2 separate regions of the Homo sapiens genome follow, and region 2 is linked to region 1. The links are contacts of gene promoters, found by promoter capture Hi-C in blood cells and fetal thymus (Javierre and others, 2016). All regions are on one chromosome and are shown on one strand. Each heading gives the region's core, a stretch centred on a gene start or on the middle of the fragment in contact. The rest is flanking DNA. Distances are from core to core; before and after follow the strand shown. Region 1 holds the start of APLP2 (amyloid beta precursor like protein 2). Region 2 overlaps LOC399975 (a long non-coding RNA gene).

Evidence for each region. Contacts are between HindIII fragments. The CHiCAGO score rates a contact against its expected background, and 5 or more counts as called.
Region 2: a fragment that was not itself captured here is called in contact with the fragment with the promoter of APLP2 in region 1 in 1 of 17 cell types (fetal thymus); the score reaches 5.9 in fetal thymus.

Annotation. Positions count from the first base shown.
Region 1 is chr11:130,068,511-130,074,908 of GRCh38, forward strand. It overlaps APLP2 (amyloid beta precursor like protein 2), which reads left to right and starts at 1,384. Exons shown (of 17, transcript NM_001142276.2): 1 at 1,384-1,572. The coding sequence starts at 1,468. LOC107984432 (a long non-coding RNA gene) reads right to left here and starts at 1,139. Exons shown (of 2, transcript XR_001748444.2): 1 at 954-1,139; 2 at 1-603. RefSeq lists enhancers at 75-575, 576-1,076 and silencers at 993-1,222, 1,613-1,742, 1,813-2,272. The HindIII fragment of the contact is 4,769 bases long and covers 1-2,825 here.
Region 2 is chr11:129,273,348-129,279,745 of GRCh38, forward strand. The region is part of intron 1 of LOC399975 (a long non-coding RNA gene); the gene reads right to left. It also overlaps a transcript of ARHGAP32 not described here. Among named protein-coding and RNA genes, the nearest start is that of ARHGAP32, 84 kb to the left of the region's middle. The HindIII fragment of the contact is 3,037 bases long and covers 907-3,943 here.

The DNA.
Region 1 (6,398 bases), core at 134-2,633:
TCAGTGACCTGAGAGAGGTATGGAATAACTAGGGAGCGAGTGCCACAGTGGGAAACATCCCTCTGAGCAATCAGAAGCGATATTTCAGCCGACTGAGCCGAGGAACAGTGAAAACGCTTCCAACAGGCAGATGTTGGGGAGAGGACATTGCAGGCGCAGAAGAGTGTTAGGAAGGGCTGTGAAATGGAAAGGTGTCGTCTTGGAGGAATCGGGCAGAGCCAGTTTACCCACAGGGAACTGGGCATGTAGGGGAGAGTGGTGCAGAATAAGGCTGGAAAATCCCGAGTTCTTACAGGCGCACTCGTCTACTCCGCGGACAGTCTCTTCCTTTCTATTGTCAGCGTCCTGGGGGTAGGGTTGTGTTATGCATTTAGTTGAACCTGAAGGGACTAGTCCAGGTCTCTCAGAAGGCAGTACCTAACTCACAGGCGACTGAAAGGAAACAAGGCCAGCGGAGCCCTGGCGGTGGCGAGGCTGTGCCAATTGCTAAATGGGGCAGCAGGACGTTTTTCTCTACTGAAGTGGCAATGCCGCGGAGCAGGAAGGCAGAGTAGCAGGTCTCCCGCTAGTGCGTCTCAACCGAAGAAGCGGCGTGATCTCTTCCTAAAACACACGAGGAAGGGGGCCTGGGCTGTGAGGCCGGCGTGGTTCTTGCACCCCTGGTCTCTATCCCTGCCTGGGCAACTGCTGGGAAGGAAGGGTCGGCAAGAGGCCTAAAGACCGGAGGCCAAGGGTGCGGAGCGCGGCCGGACTCAGAGGCGAGGACCCGGCGGAGAGGCCTGGGCGGAGCAGGGCGGGAGAGGCGCGCCCTGAGTAGGGCTCGGGGGAGGACGATGGCTGCCTCCTGCGGTCCTCCCCCTGCCTCGGGGGACGGCCCTTGGCAGACCGTCCCGGACTCCTAATTCATCCTGTTTTTAATAAAACCATTTCCAGAATCAAAAAGAGGGCGGTACCCAAAGGAGTCTGAAGAATGCCCAGCAGGGGCAGGGGAGCGGGGCGTGCCCGTATCGGGAGGCTGAAGGCTGACGGACCAGCGCAGCAGGGACAGATAACCGCGCCGGGGGGCGGAGGCCAGAGCCAGCCCCGCGCCCACAGGGTTGCGGCCCCAGACCCGCCGCGCGCACGCCCCCGCGCCTGGCGGCCACAGGGTCCGGAGCGGGGGCGGGGCCATCCGCGGCCGGGGGCGGGGCCGGGCGGGGGGCGCGCGGTTGGACCGGGCGGGAGGAGCAGGCTCTTCCATCTCCTGATTGGGTCTGGACCGCAAGGGGGCGGGGTCTTGAGGGGTTCTGCGGGCCGGCATTGGGAGCCGCAGAAGGAGGGCGTGGTAATATGAAGTCAGTTCCGGTTGGTGTAAAACCCCCGGGGCGGCGGCGAACTGGCTTTAGATGCTTCTGGGTCGCGGTGTGCTAAGCGAGGAGTCCGAGTGTGTGAGCTTGAGAGCCGCGCGCTAGAGCGACCCGGCGAGGGATGGCGGCCACCGGGACCGCGGCCGCCGCAGCCACGGGCAGGCTCCTGCTTCTGCTGCTGGTGGGGCTCACGGCGCCTGCCTTGGCGCTGGCCGGCTACATCGAGGTGGGGACCGGGCGAACGCCGGAGAGTCGTCTCCTTCGCCCGCCGGAGGAGCGCGGACTGCGGGCGGGCAGCGGGGTCCGCGGCAGGGCGGGCCGGCGGTGCGGCGCCGGGGGTCCGGCTCTGCGGCGGGTCTGGCGCGCCCTCCCCCGCCCGTCCCTGCTTGGCGCAGTGCTTAGCGCTGGAGGTCGGGCTGCCTCAGCCGCCGCAGAGGCCAAATGAAAGGCGTCGGGGCTGCTGGGGGCGGCCGTCCGCCTCGGCCGACCCAGCCCCCAACCCGCCCGCGGCGCCGCCACCTCCTCCGGGGACCCAGTGCCCCCGGGCGCCCGCCCCGCCCTCCCCCGGGACAATGCCAGGGCGCTCCTCTCCCGCCGGAGTCCGCGGCTGGGCTTTCTCCAGGGGCGGCCCCGCGCGGACCCCGTACGCTCCCTCGCGCGGCACCGGGGCCTCGGCTCCGGGCCTCCCACCTGCGAGCGGCGGGCTTCGCCTTTGTTGCCAGGTGGACGCGGCCCCGGCCTTCGCGCGCGGCAGGGATGCTGCGAGCCCCGGGGGAGCTCCCGCGCCAGGCCGCCCGCTGCTCCCTCTGCCGCCTGGGGCCGGGTCGCGGACGCGCATTTTTTAAGTGGCGCTGTTTGCCTGCGTCCGTAGACCGAGGAAACCCGCTCTGGGTGCGTTGACCGCTTTCGTGAGGGTTTCAGTGAGTAGGGAAGGTGCCCGCGAAGGCGTGTAAACTGTTGGAAAAATCGTCCTCTTCGGGTGTCAGAATTCCATCAGTGGTTGTGCTTCGAGGTCGCACCCTGAGCATCCCCGCTGCGAGAAAGGCGAAGCGGCAGGGCCGGGGGTTGGGGAGGCCGCGGGAGGGGGCGGGGGCGGCGGGGTCCGCGGTGCGGGCCGGAGCGGGCAGCCTTGGAGGAGCCCTGCTGTGGCCGAGGGAGACGGCGAGCTTGATCTTTACTTCCCTTCTCGAAGTGGTGCTTGAACTGCTGGTCTGGAATGTGTAGTTCTGGTGTCGTTTATTTCTTCTCCCTCTTCGCTCTTTTAAAAATTACAACTGGTTTCTGCATACTTAGCTAATTTCAGAGAGACCTGAAGACTGGATTTGATTGGGCATTAATTGAGAGCTTTCTTTTAAAGACCTCAGGTTTAGAATATATTTACTTCTACAGAATGTTCAAGTATTTCCACGGGTAAAAATAAATCTAATAAAAAGCCTCTCTGATGGAACGGCTTAACACCTTTGTATTCATCCAGTTTAAAGCTTTGTGACTGTGAGGGTAAGAAAGGAGTTCAGCTTTAAAGAGAAATAGTTAACGTTTATCTACAGAGGATTTTGGATTGCGATTGTTTCAGTGTGTCCACACAATGGTCAGAGTTGTATCTGTGATCCCTGATATGTCGCATGAAAACAGCTAGGTGAGTGAGATGGGAAGAAAAAATAAAGGCTTTCGTATGGAAGATGGGACTTCACTAGTGGGTCGGGTGTCAGAAACCATCGTTCACACTCGCACTCCACTTCCCACTGCTATGACTAATTTGAGGCATTAGTGAATTCACAGTAGAAGACTCAGCAGTTTTAAAGAATTCGTTAATACTTGTGTAGCGGGAAAAAATAATATGAGAATTCATTGTTGTGTGTTAAATTTGATTGTTAGCCACAGCGTTGTTCAGTTGAAAAGTATGGTTGAAGAAAGTAGGAATTAAACATTTCTGAAAAATGGTTTTATGGTAACTCCTGTTCTTTGGAGCTGTATTTTTGCTCACACTTACTAAATGATCTTTCAAGGGGCCTTTTGTCAAGCTATCAGAATTTTATTCATATGAATATAATTTGATTTTGTTTATTTGCTGTCAGGCAAGGGACTGTCGAAGCTTAATTTAGATGAGAGTGGCCTAAATCAGGATGTCTTTGGGAAGGCCCTGATTGAGATTAGCGAAAGGGATTCTGGCCAAATCCCTGATCAAGTTGCTTGGCACAGAATTATTGATTGGCAAATCTTTAGTGTTGCTTGGTGTTGACTGAATTAATCTCTTACACCTGTTTAAAAAGAAAAAGCTCACCTCTGGACTCAGGGTCACTTCCTCTCTTAAATCCGAGACAAGTTCTCCTGTGTGCATGCTCCCATTTGGGACTGAGACAGTATTGTGCTGAAACCCCGCATACTGTGCAGTGGATGACTAGGCTCCTGAGAACCGGAACTTGAGTTTGTTCTGTCACATTTGAAAGAAAGAAGGCCATTTGATTGCCAGTTTTCTGGAAACTCAAACCCAAATTAAAGGATGTCAACTGAGGCAGAGTAGAGAAGGCTTTGTGTTGGTGTTTCTGACAGGTGGTATGGGAGATGTGTAATTGTACCTTGGAGAGAAACCTTGGTGTGCTTCTGATAGGAATATCGTCTTTTTTTTTTTTTTTTTTTTGATACGGAGTCTCGCTCTGTCCCAGGCTGGAGTGCAATGGTGGGATCTCTGGGCTCACTGCAACTTCCGCCTTCCGAGTTCAAGCGATTCTCCTGCCTCAGACTCCCAAGTAGCTGGGATTGCAGGCGCCTGCCACCACGCCCAGCTAATTTTTGTATTTTTAGTAGAGACAGGGTTTCACCATGTTGGCCAGGCTGGTCTGGAACACCTGATCTCAGGTGATCCACCTGCCTCGGCCTCCCAAAGTGCTGGGATTACAGGCGTGAGCCACAGCGCCCGGCCCGTTATTTTTATCATAACTATGTTTTAAAAATCTTTTGATAAATACGATAAACTTCAGTTTTATCAATTAGTTCCTCCTTTTGTAGAGGGAATTTGTTTTACCATCTAAAGCCAGGCTTTCCCAGGGTGTAGCCACAAGCCACATGTGGTTATTGAGTCTGTAGGGTGACTAGTGTGAATGAGGAGTGAATTTTTCATTTTATTTAATTTTAATTAATTTAAGTTTACATTTAAAATCTGATTCAGTGGTTGGAAAACTTTTAACTGAAATAATTTGGTTATGCGAATTTACTTTTAAACTGTACATTTTATGAAATCTAAATGTAGATCAAGTATTTCCTATGAAAATTTAGCTTCTGAATTGAGATGTACTGGAAGTGTAACATACACATCAGATTTTGAAGATTTAATACAGAAGAATTAAAATCTCAATTTTTGTATTGACTAAATTGAAACAATACTTTAGACATGGGCTAAATAAAACATTAAAATTAATTTCACTTGTTTCTTTTCACTCTAATATGGTTCCTAGAAAATTTAATACTATGTATGTGGCTCACATTGTATTTCTGTTAGATGGTGCTGATTTAAAATTTTGCTTAAAGTTGGTCCTGCATATGTTTTTATTAGCAGAATTTTTTAATATGTTCCTATATTTTTCCACATAAAGTCTTGCTGGAAGTTGGCCCAACATGCTCTTAAGTATTTTTGTTAGAACAATTTTGAATGTGTTGATTTTTAAACTTTTTCAATTAAAAATGTTTTACTTAGAAATAACTTTAATCACCAGGCGCGGTGGCTCACGCCTGTAATCCTAGCACTTTGGGAGGCCGAGGTGGGTGGATCACGAGGTCAGGAGTTCGAGACCAGCCTGAGCAACATGGTGAAACTCCGTCTCTACTAAAAATACAAAAATTAGCTGGGCGAGATGGCGTGCGCCTGTAATCCCAGCTACTCAGGAGGCTGAGGCAGGAGAATCTGGGAGGTGGAGGTTACAGTGAGCCGAGATCACACCACTGCACTCCAGCCTGGGCAACAGAGCGAGACTCCATCTCAAGAAAACAAGAATAAAAAAAAGAAATAACTTTAATCTTATAAAAAATGCAAAAATTGTACAATTTTCTTACCCTTTACTCAGATTCACCAATTGTTAACATTTCTTCTAGTCACATTTGCTTTACTACTGCATTTTTTGCCAAATTATTTGAGAGTAAGTTGCATACGTCGTCCCCCATCCCCTTTACCCCTGAGAACTTCAGTATATATTTTCTAAGAGCCAAAGACATTGTCTTACATAGGCTTAGTACAGCCATCAACCTAATGAAATTTAACATTGATACAATACTTGGATCTTATCTGCTGTCGGTTTTCTAGTTAGTTTGTTGACCCAATCATGTTCTTTATAGCATTTGAAAACATGTTTTGTTGTTGTTGTTGTTGTTTTGTTTTTCTTTTTTGAGTTGGAGTCTCACTCTGTCGCCCAGGCTGGAGTGCACTGGCATGATCTCGGCTTACTGCAACCTCCGTTTTTCAGGTTCAAGCGACTCTCCTGCCTCAGCCTCCAGAGTAGCTGGGACTACAGGAGCCCACCACCATGCCTGGCTCATTTTTATATTTTTAGTAGAGACAGGGTTTCACCATATTGGCCAGGCTGGTTCCAAACTTCTGACCTTGTGATCTGCCTGCCTTGGCCTTCCAAAGTGCTGGGATTACAGGCGTGAGCCTCCACACCTGGCCCCTTTCAAGATTGTTTAATTCTGTTTACCCTTACTAAATTTTGAGGCTTTTGGATTTTCTTTCTAAAATAACAGAAGAAGAATTCTATAGGTAGTACATATTCATTGTAAGAAATTTAAAAGTACAGATAACCAATAAGAAGTGAAAAATGACCTAAAATCTTATTCCCCAGGGAAACCTTACTGTAATATTGTATATACCCTTCTGTTAATAGATAGGTCATGTACATAAATTTTATAAAAATGGCACATACTGCATATTGAAGCCAGCACCTAACAATGATTATTTCGAATTATGCTAACATGAACTACTCAAAGAAAATAATGTTTTCCGTGTGACAAAAAGTAGGGGTAAATCTTTGTACAGTAATTGTAGTTTCCATGGAGGGGCCAGTT
Region 2 (6,398 bases), core at 1,175-3,674, 790 kb before region 1:
ACTGTGTCAGGATTGCTATTCCTACTTAATCTGGAGGGCCACTGAATATAAAACAAGAAGGAAGGTCTGTCAGATTCTCCTTAGGTAGGTCAATGGAAACTGGACCTTTGGAGACAGAAATTACTTGTCCAAAGTCACAAGCTGTTTACAACAGAGCCAAGACAAACATCCAGGTCCTCTTGACTCCAGGTTCAAAACTCATTTTCCTGTTAAAAGTTGCTTCACTTTTTTGGTCTGTGTTTGATATCCTGGGTAATTACTGAACTTCACATGATATATTCTGCACAGCTACTGAAGATGCTACTCATCTTAAGAGTCCTTCAACCACCTATATTTCTCCAATGAAAGGAGGAACAGGAATTACTGTTTCCATGCTACACACAGGGAATAAAAGCAGTGGAGTCAAATGGCTTGCTTCACATCACAAGGCTGAAATCCAAATAAGGATTTTACTATTTTTAGGGCAAACTGATAGAATTTTCTAGAAGATTCTCTCCTAGAGTATGATGCTTATCTTTTCAAACAGAGACAAATTGGACATAACATTTCCATAATGAATGGTTCACACATGCTTTTCCTCTCAATGCTTTCCATCTCCACAGCCTCCAATATTATGTATATTATAATCCAGGATATAAAATAAAATAGTAAATAGATACATAGCCGGAAGCAAAAAAAAAAAAACAACTGTGTTTTGAAAGCCAGAATTTTACTTCTATTCTGAACATTCAGATTCATGTTTTTCTCATGAGAAATTAAACCAAACACCCATTTCTCACTTCCTCTTACTTGTCCTACAACAATCTCCTTTAAATACAAGACTAGCCCTCCCTTGTCCAGTAAAACTGAAAATATCTACTTTATAAAATCCTTACACTTTACTACCTTGGGGAATATTCCTGCTCAAGCTTCATCTCTCCAGATAGGAAACGTCTGGTTTGGTTTGTTTTTTAACCTCAAGAGAAAACTCTGTCGCATCTCATCTTCTTTAGGTCTACTTTTTTTGAGGTGCTATAATCAGAACACCTTTCCAGGTGCTGTTCCCTGGTTTTGTGGAAGAGCCCTTCTGCCTCCATCTCACTGTTCCACCGAGGACAGCGTGGGAACATCAGTGCCCTCCCCTGTCTCCTCTGGATCATCTCACTTCACTGAAGCATCAGCTAAGGCCAAGAAACTGTACAGTTTGTAGAACTGCAAGAGCCACAATGACCCCAATTCTATTTTGTTTAACTCAGAACAATGGCCTTTTTTATTTGCTCACTCTTAGTTTGAGATTAATGTTAATAAACCAGCATTTGAAGTTGAGAGGCACACCAAATTTCTCAACTGTAAGATAATTTAAATCAAATACTTCAAAAAGCAGTGTAATATAAAAGTCTCTGGATAGTAAACTAGATCTATTTAGAAAAAAAAAATTAGCTTTTATTATTTCAACTCTGAGAAGCATGCCATAAAGATGTTAATGCAAATCATAAGGAAGACTTTAGAGTACATATACATATGGGGAAAATTATCCAACCCTGGCCTAATCAAAACCGACTTTTCTCATTCATCTTTCTAAAAAAAAAAAAAAGCCAGTACCAGTACCAAAATAGAAGTGGTATTTAAATCCAATTTATAAACTTAAGAACATTATCGGGAAATTATCAAGAATCAGGATCTATAAAAAACAGAAGTATCTTTCCACCCATTCTTAATGATCTGAAGTCAGCAAGTGATTAATAAAAATACACTACAGCATACAGGAAATTTCTCAAGTTATTCCGCTTATCAGCTGTTAACTAAGTTTCAGCAAAGGAGAAAATTCTATAGCAAACAGCATAACACTCAGGAAAATAACTCTATAATCTGGAGGTGATGGTAATATAAAATATTTTAGGCATACTTTCAGGTTAGAGTTTCTAATCATCATCATCTATCACTTACTGAGTGCTTACTGTATGTCAGAGATTGTGTTAAGCCTTAATATGTACCATTTCATTTAATCCTCACTACAACCTTCCAAGGTAGATACTACTGATATTCCCTGGTCACAAAGGAAATCTCTGAGGTCCCACGACATTAATTAGTTTGTCCAGGATCAATGTTTATAAATATCATAGCTGGTATGTGAACTCAAGTCTATCTGGCTCCAAAACAAAAATTAGTACCTTTCCAGGATTCTTAACCTTATAATGGCTATGATAGGAAATAGCACATATGCTAATTAAAGTAAAAAAAAAAGTTAAGTCCTAAATCGGGGGTTGGAAAACTTTTCTTTTAAAGAACCAGATAATAAATACTTGAGGCTCTGCAGGCCGAGCTATGAAAGTACTCCACTCTGCTGCTGCACTGCCAAAGTAGCCACAGACCCAAGAATGAACGACTGTGTTCCTACAAAACTTTACTGAAGGACACTGACATTTGCGTTTTATATCATTCTCATGACATGAAATTTTATCCTTCTTTGGATTGTTTTCAACCATTTAAAAATATAAAAATCATTCTTAGCCATGGGCCAGATATGGCCTGCAGGCTACAGTTTGCCCATCCCTTCCCTAAATAATGCAGACAAATTTAAAATATTTTTTACTAAACAGTTCTTACAAATCATTAACTTGTAACCTCCTTTGGTATTGTGAACTGATACTTTAAAGAAGTTCAAAGTCTTGTCCAGCCTTGGCACAGGCCAGTAGTCCCAGCTGCTCAGGAGGGCAACGCAGGAAGATCGCTTCAGCCCAGAATTTGGAGGCCAGCCTGTGCAACATAGCATGACCCTGACTCTATTAAATTTTAAAAAGCAGCAGCAGCAGTAGCTCACAGTCTCAATAAATTTGATCTGTCTCCAAGTAATTGAAAATTCCAGAGAGTTCAAAATTGCAAGTACTACCGGTGGATTTTCTAAATAAGACAGAGCACAGAATTTTGGAACTAGAAGAAATCTAACACGTTCTCATTCCTTATCTGTTTTTGTTGTTGTTGTTGTTGTTTTGAGACAGGATCTCACTCTGTTGACCAGGCTCAAGGGCAGTGGCACAATGATAGCTCACTGTAACCCCTAATTCCTGGGCTCAAGTGATCCTTCCATCTCAACCTCCCGAGTAGCCAGGACTACAGGTGTGTGCCACTACACTCAGCTAATGGTTTTTATTTGATTTTCTGTAAAGACTGGGCCTCTCTATGCTGCCCAGACTGGTCTCAAACTCCTGGCCTCAAGGGATCCTCCCACCTCTGCCTGCCAAAGCATTTGATTAGAGGTGTAAGCCACCCTGCCCAGCCTTTATATGCATGTTTTTTAAATTTCTGTTACAACATTTAAAAGAGTTTGCTAGGCCAATTTACCAGGTAACATAGGTTAGTAACTAAGTTTATACGTAATGACAATACTTTACATATTTAAAAACAGTTCTGCAGAGCATTTTCATATCCTTTCTATCATCTGATCCTTCACAGCTCTGTAAGAAAAACAATGCAAGCCTTCTGATCCCTATTTTATAAAATGCAAACAAGCTCAGAAATGTAAATAACTTGTCCAAGGAAGGTACGCTGTCACACAGCTACTATGGGGCAGAACTGCAACCACAACCTAACTTCAAGTCCTTGCTGCCTCCTGACTACTTCCATGGACATTGGACTTCACAATCATGGGTTAAATCCGAAAAATTCTCAAGAATATTAGTCTTACTCTTTAAAAGTTCAACTATGTTAAGTTCCTTTTTGTTTCATTCTTCTGCTACCACAGCCTTATGAAGAAAACAGATGCCTAGTCCTTAACATTTATTACATGCGTCTACGATCAACATACAGTGTGCAGATAATATACTCAGGTCAGCTTGGGAAGGAAAACACTTGAATAAGTCAAGAGAGAACAAGCAACAATAAAAACATCGTTTATATAGCACCGAGAGAGAGAGAAAGTAGAGATGAATGTATTGCCATTAGTGTCGCAGGCCAACTTCAGAAAAGCTTTTGGTGACTGGAAAATGATACGGAGGTTAGGAAATGAACACAGAAGGAACATAACTACTGGAATTCAAACCAACATCAAAGGCTCTAAAGAAGACAGTTGAGCCTGTCTTGCTGGTTCTTAGTCTCTCCCTAGAAAACAAAACAGTTACATAACTGGAGAAGGTTCTTCCAACTAACATTTCCTCTCTGTCCCACTTATGTTTTTCTCCCCCACTACTTCACCCTGTCACCCACCTCAATGTGAACGATCATACAGTAAACTGGGCTTCCACCTTAGCTGTGTCCAGACAAGTCTCTGTCCAAAGTGCTGCTTTATACACGGACTGCTATAGGGACCACGGTACGAAGATAACTGGCTTAAACACAATTCCAACCTGACATTTCCATAGAGACACCTGCTCTATGAAGCATCACCATATATCCAATTCCAAGAATGACTCAGACTCCAGACATTCCTGAAAATGGAAATCACAACATCCTAATGCCTCATCTTCACAAACAGCCCCATTAAAAAGAAAACACAACATTGAGTACTTGAAAAACTTTGAGGTCATGTTGTAGTAGTAATTAAAGCTTCTCTTTCCTTCACACTCAAGTCCAAGGAACAAATATCGATTCTCAGTTAGACTTCAATGTATCCAATAAGGAAGGATATATTGAGTCACAACCATAAATACTCAAAAATATTACAACAAATCCAGTCACTGATTCAAACTAGCAAACTGTGGAGACTCTTAAGAGCCACCGCACTCCAGCACCATTTGCTTTTTCTTCTTCCAATAGAAATACAAACATAGACAATGTTTACAAAAGCAACCAATGTATCAGAAAAGTTATCCCCATTCAGACTGACTTAAAAGGTCTAAATCTGTGCCAAATAAAACTCTGAAAGAATAGAAAATAAAAGAGATGCTGACAACAATGCTATGGCCCAGCTGCCAGCTAGCCATGTAGCATCACGCAGTGCCCCAAGCATTTTAAAGACAGATTGTAACTCTGCATTCAGATCAAAATTATAATTATCCAAATTCTATTTCCTAAAAGATGACTATTAAACTGCATCCCAAGCATTCTGCTTGGGTCTCCTCCTTCCTTCCATCTTCAAGTTTCACAAACAGAAGGTGAAGCTACAAAAGGTCCAAGGTAGACTAAAGCTAAGAAACCAAGTCTGATTTTCTCTCCCTACCGTTTCTTGTGTACTGCTTAAGAAAATCTTTAACATAAATATTTGATAAAGTCAAAAAACGGGAAACCAAGGTACAGGGGTGGCGAGGAAGCGAGGGGGAAAAAAGGCACTAATGCACCACCGTCGTCCAACATGCAGCGGCAACTTCAGTCAATCGGAAAGACGAGGGGGGAACTCCACGGGAGCCTAAGGGAGCAGAGACCTCTGGCCCCGCGGGGCCCACGCACACCTGGGGGCGGGACCCGCGATGTCGCCCGCGGGCAGCGGAGGGAAACGCTCCCGCGGCTCCTCCGGGAGCGCCGGTGTCCCTGGAGCCCCCACTCGGCCGCTCCCAGGAGTCGCGGCTGCCGCCCGCCTTGGGCCCGGGGCGGAGAGCGCTGCGGCAGGCCAGAACGCCGTCCGAACGCCCGGCTCGCGGAGGCCGCGGGGAGCGCGGGGCGCGGGCGCGGGAGGCGGTGGGCCCGCAGCGCCGTCCGCCCCGGGAGGCCGGGGAGATGGGGCCGGGGGCGGGGGGACAACCGAGAGGCTCCTCCGGGAGCATGCGATCCGGAACCCTCACTCTAAAAAGAATATTTTAAGAAGGAAAGAGAGGCCCCCCGCAGCCTTCCCCGCGGGGCCTGCCCACGTCACCGGCGCCCCCGGCCCTCCCGCGCGCCCGCCTTACCGAGCCCCGCGGCCCCGCCGCGCCGCCGCGGCGTCCCTGCGCCCCGCTGGCCGCTCCGTGTCTGCCCTCCGCGGGCCGGGCCCGACGCCCTCCGCCCGCCGCCGCCGCCGCCGAGCGCCGCCCGCGCCGCCGAGCCTAGCGCCTGGCCGCCGAGGGCAGCCGCGGGGGCTCGGCCGGGCGTCCCCCGCGCCAGCGCCTCATCCCGCCTCGCGCCCCGTCAGGCTCGGGGGCGGGGGCGCCGGGCCGCGGCCTCCAAGTCCCCACCTCCGGCACGCACCGCGCTCGCCCTCCCGCGGCGGAGTCGGCCCCCGGGGACGCGGGTCCTCGGGCTCCAGAGCCTCTCACCCTGACGCCTTCGGGCCGCCCCCGCAGCGCCCCCGCCCAGCTGGCCGGCGCGTGCCCCCGCCGGAGCCCGCCGCCCGCCCAGCCTCCGCCTCCTCCGCTCCGCCTCCTCCTGCACCCGCGACGCCCGCAGCGGGGAGAAGAGGCGCGCCGCCGCGGCCGCGGGCACGAGCACGCGCGAGGAGGGCGGGCGGCGGGCGGAGCGCGCGCGCGGCCGAGGGGGCGGGGGCGCGCCGAAGCCTCGCCTGCTGTTGTCCC